Regions from separate parts of the Homo sapiens genome. Here regions 1 and 2 are each linked to region 3. The links are contacts of gene promoters, found by promoter capture Hi-C in blood cells and fetal thymus (Javierre and others, 2016). All regions are on one chromosome and are shown on one strand. The core of a region is centred on a gene start or on the middle of the fragment in contact, and the rest is flanking DNA. Distances in the headings are between cores, read along the strand shown.

The links. The method cuts DNA at HindIII sites, captures the fragments that hold promoters and counts their contacts. A CHiCAGO score of 5 or more calls a contact.
Region 1: a fragment that was not itself captured here is called in contact with the fragment with the promoter of EDAR in region 3 in 3 of 17 cell types (non-activated CD4 T cells, naive CD8 T cells and total CD4 T cells); the score reaches 8.1 in non-activated CD4 T cells.
Region 2: a fragment that was not itself captured here is called in contact with the fragment with the promoter of EDAR in region 3 in 2 of 17 cell types (naive CD8 T cells and non-activated CD4 T cells); the score reaches 5.4 in naive CD8 T cells.

What each region holds. Positions count from the first base shown.
Region 1 is chr2:109,133,022-109,137,126 of GRCh38, forward strand. All of the region lies in intron 1 of SH3RF3 (SH3 domain containing ring finger 3), which reads left to right. It also overlaps a transcript of RANBP2 not described here. Among named protein-coding and RNA genes, the nearest start is that of SH3RF3-AS1, 5.0 kb to the left of the region's middle. RefSeq lists an enhancer at 1,679-1,748. The HindIII fragment of the contact is 4,584 bases long and covers 196-4,105 here.
Region 2 is chr2:109,115,266-109,119,666 of GRCh38, forward strand. It overlaps a transcript of RANBP2 not described here. Among named protein-coding and RNA genes, the nearest start is that of SH3RF3, 12 kb to the right of the region's middle. The HindIII fragment of the contact is 3,629 bases long and covers 625-4,253 here.
Region 3 is chr2:108,987,242-108,991,531 of GRCh38, forward strand. EDAR (ectodysplasin A receptor) reads right to left here and starts at 1,979. Exons shown (of 12, transcript NM_022336.4): 1 at 1,719-1,979. It also overlaps a transcript of RANBP2 not described here. RefSeq lists an enhancer at 452-953. The HindIII fragment of the contact is 677 bases long and covers 1,587-2,263 here.

The sequences.
Region 1 (4,105 bases), core at 1,238-3,737, 150 kb after region 3:
GACTCGGCTAGGCACTATTATAGGTAAACAAGACTGGCTTGGGCTTTCTGGATGGAGCTGACAGTAGAGGTAGTGAGTGGTTGCAAGCTGTCTGCCCAGCTCTCAGAAGGTACCCGTGGGCACTGACCGGTGTCACTCCAGAATTCTGTGAGGGTTACAAGGAAGGACATTGTCACAAATTAAAGAATTCTAGAAAGCTTAGGCAGTGCCTTTGATGATATAAAAGTCGGCATTACAGCCTAATAAGTTTATCTGTATTTTGTATCTTGAGGTACAGTGGTATATGTTCACATTGGATCCGTTTGAAAATCTCTTCTGTGTCTCTTTGACAATGTGACTGGGACTTAATAGAGAAAATAATTTAAGTTGGAGAATCATAAAATTATATTTGTTAAATATTTTATTTTATAAGCATACACGTGTATGATTCTTCCACCATTTTTTGAGTACAGAGCTGAGGACCTTTCTTTGAGTTCCAGATTGTCTTTTTAGCTGAACACAGTCACCTTTTATGATTTTCTATTTGTTTCTTTCAAATAGAGTGAAGACTAAGATTTTCAAAGGATTCTGAATAGAGCGTCATTTAGATTTTAAATAGGACCTCTCCACTAATGTTTGATGTTCTCATTTACACCTGATTTGACCATTTTGTTAGTGTTTGAGTCTTTCATACATGGTCATCTTGATTTCCCAAGGGACAATTTTTTTTTTTTTTTTTTTGCACTCAAACTTCTTTCCCTGTTACAGACTATTGAATTATGGTGCATATTTAGCATTATGAGTACAACTTGCATTAGCATAGTTGGGAATAAGGACAACAGATCCCTGATAAGCACAGGCTTCCCCAGGCAGGAGTGGCTGGCCCAGCCTTGCCAGGCTGTAGTCTCTGGTGGGTGTGGGTGACTTTGGCTGTGTTACAGAGGACGTGGAATGTTGGTTAGTCCAGCTGGTCAGCTAGTGGAGGCCAGGATAGAGGGTGTCTATGGTATCTGGAAGCTAGTTACCATGTTCTTTGGGTCTCGACAGTTGAACTGCTTATATACCCGAGATTTTCTGTTGAACATTTACTGAGTGCCTGCTGCATGCTGGGCACTTTGACATATATCACCTTATGGAAAGTTCACAATAATCCTGCCAAGTGGCTGGTATAATTATTATTTTGAGGCCCAGAGAGATTGATATTTGGGCAAGTCAGAGAGCTAGGAAGTGATTGAGTTAGGATTCTGTTCCTCCGCCCTTCTGTCCAGTTTGGCTGGATGGTTGGGATGTTGTCGTGGTTCGGTCTTGGATATAATAAGGACTCCAGAGGAAAAGGCTGGCACTTGGGGGCCTCACCAAAAACCAGACAGCTCACAAGAGACCAAACGAGTGGTTGATATGACAGCTGAGTTACAGCAAAGTCCTGTTCAGAAGGCCCCTGAGTGTGGAAACAGCAGTTTGCAGCCAGCGAGTGAATAATCTAAATTATTATTTATTGAGCACCCAGTGGGACCAGGTGTGAATGAAGCCTCTGCTGAGGGCTAAGGGTTGAGCGGTGTTTTAAGTGTGGCTCATCTGGTCCTTACTGCAACTTGGTGAGGTTGCTAGTTACACAGGTACGGAAATTAAGGCTCCAGAATTTCCTTGCTGAGCGGCACACAGTTAATGAGGGTGTTTTTTGGAAGATTAACTTTGGCCTTGGTTAGAAGAGTCCTCTTACTCTACCACAGGCTCAGCTCGTTGGTAGCACGATTCTAAACATAAGCAGTGGCCACCCCTTCCATTCACCGTGCCTCACGGCTGCAGATGCTCTTCTATGCAAGGCTGCTGTCTTGTAAACCCACAGAGTGCACAGAGCAGTGTGGCCCACAGGAAACAGCATCAAATCTGTTGTGGCTTTGGATGCAGGTGACAGGCAGCTCTATTAATATGTAAGTGACATGAACAGGACATTAGTCTGAGTGGCCTAGCTGGCTAACCCAGCAGCTCTGTGCTCTCCTCACTGATCCATACTTGGTCTGCCCTTCTGCTCTGCTCCTCTGTTGGCTTCATTCTCATCCCTACCCAGTAGGTCTCAAATAGAGGCCGTGGCTTCAGGTGTCACAGTCCCATGACAACACCCAGTAGTGGAGACAGCAGGGTTTCTTCCCCTTGTACTTAGTCTCCAAGTCGGTGAGCAAACGGTGACCCAGCCCCAACCCCATGTTTCTTGTTACACCCCTGGGGACAGTGTTGCCTCCCAGGCTGGTGTCTGAAGCCCACACACAGGACTGCCTTTTCTCCTGAGGCGGTGGCCTGCCACCTCCCCCAGGACACGTGGAAGGAGGGGAAGGGGTGGTGGGAATCCCACTGAAGGTGGTTTTAATCTTGGCTTCCACACTTCCTCACCATCTGCCCCGGGGCAAATGGGCTAGCTTTCCTGAGACTTGTTATCAGTGAATTAGGGATGCTATCTGCTTCTTAGATAAATAGGATAACGTATGTGCAGTGCCTGGCACACGTGATTGGCTGTCGTTTCAGTGCCTGTTCCTAATACGAAAATCTTCAAGTCTCTTATCACGCGTGAGGCACACCTCAGAGTGCCTGCTTTGCTGCTGGTGGATTTGTGGTATTTAGTATTCTAAGTTAAGGGTGTGTGCGTGTACGTGTGTGGATGTGGATGTGCATGGGGGGGTGTGTGTGTGTTGTGAGTCTGATATCATGCTTTGCCTCTAGATTCAGTCAGTCCATGTTGTGGAAACTGGATCGTCAAGCATTACTGGGCATCTATGCGGAGTAGTTGCTTGAGTCTGTTGGTTTCCTTTTTAAATTTGCTCCAAGTTTATCTTTATTATCAGAGGCAGTGTTCATGATTCTTACAAACTTCATTAAAAGGGAAAAAACGTCTAAGCCATAATCTGCTTTAAAAAAACAGCAGGGGAGAATAATCCTGCTCAGTTGCTGATCCAGCCTGTTGGCAGGCTATCCTGAAAACGAGCCCACCTCCGTCATCCGTAGGACACAATAGCTTGTCTACAGCTGCCTAGAATCAGGCTGCTTGCTGTGATGGAGCTGAGCAGAATTCTATCCAATTGTTTCTTCCTCCTGGCTTTTGAGAGCCTGCCTGCTTGCTGGAGCATGACAGATTCGGGGCTCAGTTTTGCAATTGTTTCTAGTGTGCATTTCCGTTTGATCTGTATTTAATCTCTATCTTTTACAGTTAACATGATCTTTTTTGAGGTGCATTAAAAAAAAACACACACATCAGCAAGCATTTGCTGGGGGAAATGCTCTTGATAGCACCACTTGAAGAGGCCAAGGTCAATTTTTATCAGATTTGCCTTGCTTGGGAGATCTTCAGATTTGATGAATGTGAAATGCATGCTTGATGGGTATCCTATTGGAATTTTAATTAACTTTAAAAGAACAGGGTGTCGAGCTGAAGGTATTGGCAACAGTGAATGGTTTACAGATCATGCAGGCACCCCATAATGTGAGCCTCCCTTTTCCCATTGAGTGAAGTTGGAATGAAAAAGTGTATAAAGTTGCAGCATGATTTGTATTCTGCTTTCTTTAGGCTCTCCTGGCCCTTGATGGCTCTGCACATCCTTGGAGGCCATTTAGAGCTGCAGCTCTCCTTTGGGAGACCTGAAGGAGGCCCAAGAAGAGTCACTGCGCTCTTGGGTAGCACGTGTTTACATTGTTAACTGATGCAAACGAAGATATGATGGTATTTGCATTTCCACTTAATGTAATGTGTGCATAAGGCTCACATGAATTTATGTGAGTTTAAATGAATTAGGATTGACCACAGGAATTCGGATCAGGAGGAGGTGTGAGAGAATTTAGAAGCATGCTTGCACCGGGGCACCTGTAAATGTGCTGCAGCCGGGCTCTCTGAGAGCAAGACCTCACCAGAGAATCAGGGAGTTCGCAGGGAGCCATCTTTACCCTGGTTCAAGGAATGGGATGCTGATGCTTTTCTCTCTCTGGCTTCACTGCACAGATATTTAAGTACCTGCTGTGTACCATACACTACAGTGGACACTGGGGGCTCCAGGGACAGCGATTGCATTGGTCTCTATTTATAATGAAATGTAATTTTTTTTCCATTTAGTTAGGTGACCAGATATGCTGCAGAGGAAAA
Region 2 (4,401 bases), core at 1,189-3,688, 130 kb after region 3:
AGTCTCTTTGTAGGTCACTCAGGACTTGCTTTATGAAACTGGGTGCTCCTGTATTGGGTGCATATATATTTAGGATAGTTAGCTCTTCTTGTTGAATTGATCCCTTTACCATTATGTAATGGCCTTCTTTGTCTCTTTTGATCTTTGTTGGTTTAAAGTCTGTTTTATCAGATACTAGGATTGCAACCCCTGCCTTTTTTTGTTTTCCATTTGCTTGGTAGATCTTCCTCCATCCTTTTATTTTGAGCCTATGTGTGTCTCTGCACATGAGATAGGTTTCCTGAATACAGCGCACTGATGGGTCTTGACTCTTTATCCAATTTGCCAGTCTGTGTCTTTTAATTGGAGCATTTAGTCCATTTACATTTAAAGTTAATACTGTTATGTGTGAATTTGATCCTGTCATTTTGATGTTAGCTGGTTATTTTGCTCGTTAGTTGATGCAGTTTCTTCCTAGCCTTGATGGTCTTTACAATTTGGCATGATTTTGCAGTGGCTGGTACCGGTTGTTCCTTTCCATGTTTAGTGCTTCCTTCAGGAGCTCTTTTAGGGCAGGCCTGGTGGTGACAAAATCTCTCAGCATTTGCTTGTCTGTAAAGTATTTTATTTATCCTTCATTTATGAAGCTTAGTTTGGCTGGATATGAAATTCTGGGTTGAAAATTCTTTTCTTTAAGAATGTTGAATATTGGCCCCCACTCTCTTCTGGCTTGTAGAGTTTCTGCTGAGAGATCTGCTGTTAGTCTGATGGGCTTCCCTTTGTGGGTAACCCAATCTTTCTCTCTGTTTGCCCTTAACATTTTTTCCTTCATTTCAACTTTGGTGAATCTGACAATTATGTGTCTTGGAGTTGCTCTTCTCGAGGAGTATCTTTGTGGCGTTCTCTGTATTTCCTGAATCTGAATGTTGGTCTGCCTTGCTAGATTGGGGAAGTTCTCCTGGATAATATCCTGCAGAGTGTTTTCCAACTTGGTTCCATTCTCCCTGTCACTTTCAGGTACACCAGTTAGACGTAGATTTGGTCTTTTCACATAGTTCCATATTTCTTGGAGGCTTTGTTCGTTTCTTTTTATTCTTTTTTCTCTAAACTTCCCTTCTCACTTCATTTCATTCATTTCATCTTCCATCACTGATACCCTTTCTTCCAGTTGATCACATCGGCTCCTGAGGCTTCTGCATTCTTCACGTAGTTCTAGAGCCTTGGCTTTCAGCTCCATCAGCTCCTTTAAGCACTTCTCTGTATTGGTTATTCTAGTTATACATTTGTCTAAATTTTTTTCAAAGTTTTCAACTTCTTTGCCTTTGGTTTGAATTTCCTTCTGTAGCTCAGAGTAGTTTGATCATCTGAAGCCTTCTTCTCTCAACTCGTCAAAGTCATTCTCCGTCCAGCTTTGTTCCATTGCTGGTGAGGAACTGCGTTCCTTTGGAGGAGGAGAGGTGCTCTGCTTTTCAGAGTTTCCAGTTTTTCTGCTCTGTTTTTTCCCCATCTTTGTGGTTTTATCTACTTTTGGTCTTTGATGATGGTGATGTACAGATGGGTTTTTGGTGTGGATGTCTTTTCTGTTTGTTAGTTTTCCTTTTAACAGACAGGAACCTCAGCTGCAGGTCTGTTGGAGTTTGCTAGAGGTCCACTCCAGACCCTGTTTGCCTGGGTAACAGCAGCGGTGGCTGCAGAACAGCAGCTTTTCATGAACCTCGAATGCTGCTGTCTGATTGTTCGTCTGGAAGTTTTGTCTCAGAGGAGTACCCGGCCGTGTGAGGTGTCAGTCTGCCCCTACTGGGGGGTCCCTCCCAGTTAGGCTGCTCAGGGATCAGGGGTCAGGGACCCACTTGAAGAGGCAGTCTGCCCGTTCTCAGATCTCCAGCTGCATGCTGGGAGAACCACTGCTCTCTTCAAAGCTGTCAGACAGGGACATTTAAGTCTGCAGAGGTTACTGCTGTCTTTTTGTTTGTTTGTGCCCTGCCCCCAGAGGTGGAGCCTACAGAGGCAGGCAGGCCTCCTTGAGCTGTGGTGGGCTCCACCCAGTTGGAGCTTCCTGGCTGCTTGGTTTACCTAAGCAAGCCTGGGCAATGGTGGGTGCCCCTCCCGCAGCCTCACTGCCGCCTTGCAGTTTGATCTCAGACAGCTGTGCTAGCAATCAGCGAGACTCCATGGGCGTAGGACCCTCCGAGCTAGGTGCAGGATATAATCTCCTGGTGTGCCGTTTTTTAAGCCCGTCGGAAAAGTGCAGTATTAGGGTGGGAGTGACCCAATTTTCCAGGTGCCGTTTGTCACCCCCTTCTTTGACTAGGAAAGGGAACTCCTTGACCCCTTGCGCTTCCCGAGGGAGGCAATGCCTCGCCCTGCTTCAGCTCGCGCACGGTGCGCTGCACGCACTGTCCTGCGCCCACTGTCTGGCACTCCCTAGTGAGATGAACCCGGTACCTCAGATGGAAATGCAGAAATCACCCGTCTTCTGCGTCGCTCACGTTGGGAGCTGTAGACGGGAGCTGTTCCTATTCGGCCATCTTGGCTGCTTCCACCCAGCATTTTTCAAAAAGCAAGGCTACAGTAATATTTTCGATCCTGTGTATTCTTCTAAAACCTTGCCCACACTCATCAGAAAGTGGAGTCTATTTCTCTGATCCTTTCTCTGGGTGTGCTCTTGTAACTGCCTTGAGGAACAGAATGCTGAAGAAGTGCCACTGCCTGCCCTCTGAGGCAAGATTGTGAAAATGAGACCTGGCTCACTCTCCAGGGTTGCGCCACCCTGGTGCTCAGTTAACATGGAAAGGCCACATAATGGCGTCTGGTGAAGATCAGCCAGCACTGACTGCAAGGCACAAAGGCCTTCTGCGGACCCTCATATCCAGCCTTTGGGCTGAGTGGAAGAGAGATAAGCTGTTTCTACTGAGTCCTGCCCAAATGGCAGATGCATGAGCAAAATAAACAGCACCATCATTTTCAACTACCACATTTTGGGGTAGTTCTTTACTCCACAAAAGACAACTGCAACATTTCACTCTGACATCCTGTGACAAAGCCATATAAATGCTGCTCCTGTTCTGGGTGTGTAAGAACAGGCACGACAACACAGCTATCCCAGGCCCACCAGATGATTTTCTGGCAAAGAGCAAACAAACAAAAAGAGGGCATTAGCTGCGGGGGTCTGCCTGCAGACCCTGACCCAAACGACGGATGAATGAAATGTACACTGACACACAGATACACTGTTTTGCCAGTCCTGCTGAGTGTCCGACTGCCTACACACCAAGAGAGGTTTGTCCACCGCAGCCGGCCACTCAGCTGGACTGGCAAAACAGAATATCTGCGTGTCAGTGTACGTTTTATTCATCTGTTTTTTGGGTCAGGGTCTGTGGGCAGACCCCTGCAGCTAATGCCCTCTTGTGAGGAGCAATACCTCAACTGGTGCCCTCTCTGAGGCTCACAATACCTCAATAAGTCATGATTTCAAATATTTGGAGAGTCATGTGGACAAGGGACCAGATTTCATTCCCAGTTGCTTAGAGAAGGGAAAATAGATAAAAGTTTCTGAAAGATGGACACATGCCTGGTATGTGGAAGGACTTTCTAAGTCGTGGGATCCCATAATAAACCAGACTGTCATTTGAGGGGGTGAGGCTGGCAGTTCTCCATCACTGGCAATGTCTAGGCAGAGGTGGTGACCACCTGGCTGCAGGGGTGGTGGTGTGAAACCAGGATGGTTGAATGAGGGAAGTTTTAAATTTGACTCTGCGATTCTATAACGGACTTGCCTTTGCAGCATCCACCAGGCTTTTCTTGGAAGGCATCGTCCTAGGTGCAATGAGGCTCTGACCTGGCTTTTCAAGAAATATCTGAGAGCTTGGTAGGAGCTCTGGGGAAATGCTAAGACACTTTGTCAGGCATGGAGTTCCTGGACAGAATGGCCACTGAAATGTTCAATATGCATTTTATTCTAGAAAGGTCTATGTATTTAACTACAGAGCAGAATGGACACAACTCTTGGCACATTCACAATCCATATCTCTCTCACAAGGAAGGGACCACCATCATCCTGTCCGTGAAACAGTCCCATTGCTCTTCCCCCGAGGTTGGTTATTCTACTTTAGCTCTATATCTTTCATAAAGGATTTCACATTTTTCTAAAATACACATGAGTATTATTTATAATTGACAATCTCCCCTTGGATGATTTAGGATATACTTCTGCCAAGACAAGAATTCAGATATTAAATATTATTCAATGTCAATTATGCTGTGATTATGCTGGAAGCTTTTTTTATATTCAATTTTCATTCATTCGCTCATGACTGTAATTTAAATAAGGGATTTTCTTTACTGCATTAAATGTATTATCAATGCAGTGCTATAGCTTAATAACTGTACCATGCATACAAGTTTAAGTATTTTCTAAGATCT
Region 3 (4,290 bases), core at 729-3,228:
GGACCCAGAAAGGAGCGTCAGGTAACCCAGCTTCCATCTGTGGGCCTATGAGACCTGAGGAACTTTGACTAGAAGAGGCTCCCCATTTAACAGAGGCAAGTAGGTTTTGCGCTCCGTGAGATGGGGTAAGACCAGGTCTGTCTGCACTCCGGAGCAATGTTGGGCTGCCGCCCAATGGCAGGCACTGGGCTAGGCAAGAGGGTACCATGATGCCTGAGAAACAAAGATGAGCCCCTGACATGTCTGTGCTTCACAAATGTGTATGCCCAACAAAATGAAAGTCCAGCTCACAAAAGCAAGAAACCAGGTAGTGGCCAGGGAGTGAAAATCAAGCATTTCAGGGAAAGTGTATTTACTTTTTCCTCCCAAAGACTGGTCCTTCCAAGATTATCCTCCAACTGTGCTGTCACAAATTAATCCTCCCACAGCACAGCCTGGCCCACTTAGGGATGGGGAGGGGTACAGTGGAGACCCCCGGCCAATCGCCACCAGGATCGCCAAACTTTCCCAGCCGTGAAGGGTACACGTGGACTGTCATCGGAACGAACGCTTATTTCCAAGCCTTGACCAGAGTCACTCTCTTTTTGGTGGCCTCTGTCAAAATGTATCTTTAAAGGTTTTAAGTGGCTATGACTTACAAATCTCAGAGTATTAAGCCAGGCAAGAAACATTCTCTATTTTAGATGCCTGGATCCCTTTTTTCCTTCAGTCTATTATGGCTCTTCACTTCTTTGTTACACTTTCACTCTTGCTTAGAAAGTGTCTCAAAAATGCCACTTGAGAGCCACAGAGCAGTGGCCTGGGGACTGGGGAAGAGGACGGTGGTGCTCCTGTCTCTCCGTACGTCTCCTCACATGCGTGTACCCCTGGCTGTGTGGGATTGCCCACTGACCGGCATCTGCCCTGCTTGTTGATTTTAACTGTCCCTCTTGTTGCTGACCCAGCACAACATGGGCAGGGAAACCCAGTGGGAACCTCGCCTGCTGACCTCCCTGCCCAGCCACCCGCTTCTCCCTGAGCTGACATCTCAAAGCTTGGCTGCTGCAGGAGGCTGGGAATCAGAGCCGACTGAATCAGAGCCGACTCCTGTCTAGGAGCCCAACCCACCCCACGGTCTGTCAGAGTGTTGAGAGGAACCTCTTGGCTGGAAATGAAAACCTCAATCATCACAAATAGGTACCCACTCCCCTCCTTCTCTCCCTCTCCCCGCTCCCCCGCCACCAACACAGAGGCCAGGATATGGGGGGTCTCAGACACGACTGGAAACCCCACTTGGAAGGTCTCTTAGGTCACAGCGGGTACGCAGAGTTGGAGGCAGGTACAGAGCCCAGCTAGAGTCCCTGCCGCGCCTGCCTTCCCCAGTGAGCCGGGCACAGGGGCAAACCTGAGAAACATACTTTTCACGCTCCCTGGAGGAACCCGTTGCTTCAGTAGCCCAAATCTTAAAGCCTGTGAAGCACACACAGAATTTGTCTCCCTAACCAAATGTGCAACCAACAGCAAAACAGGGTTTCTGATGTTTTTCTAAAACAAAGGAACAATCTCAGGTCTTAGAACTGGTAGCGCAGACATACTGCAATCGGTAAAGCTTGTTCAAACGCAACCCAAAAATGACATGCATTTCAAAAATGCACCCAGCCTCTCTCCCAGCCCATGACACCTCCGTCTCGGCCACAGCTGAAGAGTTTAGAAAACCAGAGGAAAGGACCAGGGCTTACCTGGCTTCTGTTGGAGGTCAGCTTCAGTCCCAGCAGAAGATGGGTCTATGAAGAAAGTCAGGTACCATCCAGTTCTGGGTGACAGGCTTCACAGGTGGCCACCGTGGCAGCCCTCTCAGAAGCAGGTACTCTATGTCCTTAGGGGCCAGCAGGGCTGCCTGGGACCTGGCACACCTCTCTGACACTAGCCCCGCTTCCTTTCCGTTTAAAGGGCTTCCCGGGAACTCTTCCTTGACCGCTCCCTGCCCTGTCTGCAAGTTTGGAAACTCAGTCCTTGCCGAGGGGCTTTCCCTCATTGCAAACTCACCTGCACCATCTAGAGGTCTCTCCCAGCACTGGAGAGGCTGGAGCGGGCACGTTCAGCCCTGCTGCCATAGGTCCCTGGCACACCTGGCTCTCCGGCCGTCTGCCCCTTAAGAGATCTGTTGGAATGCGTAAAAATCATGGATTTTTTTTTTTGCAGGGGTGGGGGCCTTGCTTCTATCAGAGCCTTTAGGCGTGGGAGTGCTAAAAAGCTAAACTAGCATTAAAATATCATTAATCAAAGCTTGTTCGTAGAAGGACCCCCCACTGAGATGGCTACAGGCATGGGTGCCACTGCACGGATTCAGCTTCCAACATGTCTGTTCACATTCTCACCCATCCCCCGCACATCCCTCAGGGTTTGAGCCACCAGGACTGCTCTTCCTTTCCTCTCTCTGGACACCTCACACCACCAGTGTATACCCATGTAACTTCAGATAACCATACACACCCCCCGTATAACTAGGTAATTAGGAAGCCATTTGAAACATCAACATTTTGAAAGGACATACCTTTCAGTATTGGGCAATTATTTCTCAAAAAGTAAATGATTGGGGGGGGGAAAACAGCCTTAAAATAATGTCATTCTCTTGTCATTTTCTCCCTCATTCACACCTACACAGATAAATACAGGAACAGAGCAGCTCCTCCAGGCTAGATTTCTGTGTTCTCCTTTTCCATCTTGTCCCCTCTGCCTTGGAAACCTACAAGGTAACTCACACATGAGAAAGTAAGAGCTTAAGAAAGAAACAGTCTGGGCTCCGTGGCTCACACCTGTAACCCCAGCACTTTGGAGGCTGAGGCGGGCAGATCACTTGAGGTCAGGAGTTTGGGATCAGCCTGGCCAACATGGTGAAACTCCGTCCCTACTAAAAATACAAAAATTAGGCCGGGCGCGGTGGCTCACGCCTGTAATCCCAGCACTTTGGGAGGCCGAGGCGGGTGGATCATGAGGTCAGGAGATCGAGACCATCCTGGCTAACAAGGTGAAACCCCGTCTCTACTAAAAATACAAAAAATTAGCCGGGCGTGGTGGCGGGCGCCTGTAGTCCCAGCTACTCGGGAGGCTGAGGCAGGAGAATGGCGTGAACCCGGGAAGCGGAGCTTGCAGTGAGCCGAGATTGCGCCACTGCAGTCCGCAGTCCGGCCTGGGTGACAGAGCGAGACTCCGTCTCAAAAAAAAAAAAAAAAAAAAATATACAAAAATTAGCCGGTGGTGGCATGTGTGGAGGCTAAAGCAGGAGAATTGTTCGAACCCAGGAGATGGAAGTTGCAGTGAGCCGAGATTGTGCCACTGCACTCCAGCCTGGGCAACAGAGCGAGAATCTGTCTCAAAACAGAAAAGAAAAGAAAAGAAAAAAGCAGACAGAAATGTATGGGGCTGGGGCAAGGACCTAGACTGTAAAGGACTAATTCTGCCTCCACAGAGATTAAGCTGAACCAGAGTTACTTAGCTGACTTGATCCTTGTGGATGATTAATCTAGATAATATAAGCTCCCAAACAAGAATTTTAACTTGAATTTTCAGGTTTGGTTGTCTACCCTGCTCATGCCGAGTTCAGACTGAGGGTCTGTGATAAATTAAAGTCACTGAAATTATTAAATTAGGAACCTGGGAAAATGAATGGGAGGTATTCTGGGCTAATCTGTTCTACTCCATATAATTTTTACTTTCTGGTGTGCTCACAGTGTGTTTGAGGTTTGGGATTATTTTAGGTGTAACTAAAACATTTTTTCTATTGGAAATTAAGTGGTGATTTAAAATTTACCAAAAGGAATGATACTGATATTTCCCAAAGAGAGAGAAAAAAGACACAAGAAAAAATTAAAATGGCACAAAATATGGATGCTGTAATAGAAGCCAAGGGAGTTTTTTCCTCTCTTTGAAAAAAATCCAAACATCATGGCATTAAGCAAGGTTATGGATGGTTATACTTGAAGTCTGCCTAGTCATCATATCCAAATGAAAATGAGTATATAATTAATTCAGTTGATTAAGAGAAAGAATGAAATGAGAAATCATTGCTTATCTTCATCATGTAAAGCTCCAGAGCTTTGAAGATATGTGATTTTCTGTTTTATACATTTCCTAAGAGACTGAGGCAGAAATAGCAACAGGTTATCAATAGCATTTTTTAAGTAAGAAAATGAATCAAGACTGCAGAACATGGTTGGGTGAAGGGGGTCTCCTGGGGCTGTGTTCTAAATTTAGAACAAATTTAGAAATGATGAATGTAATTTAGAACAAATGAATTGTAATTTAGAACAC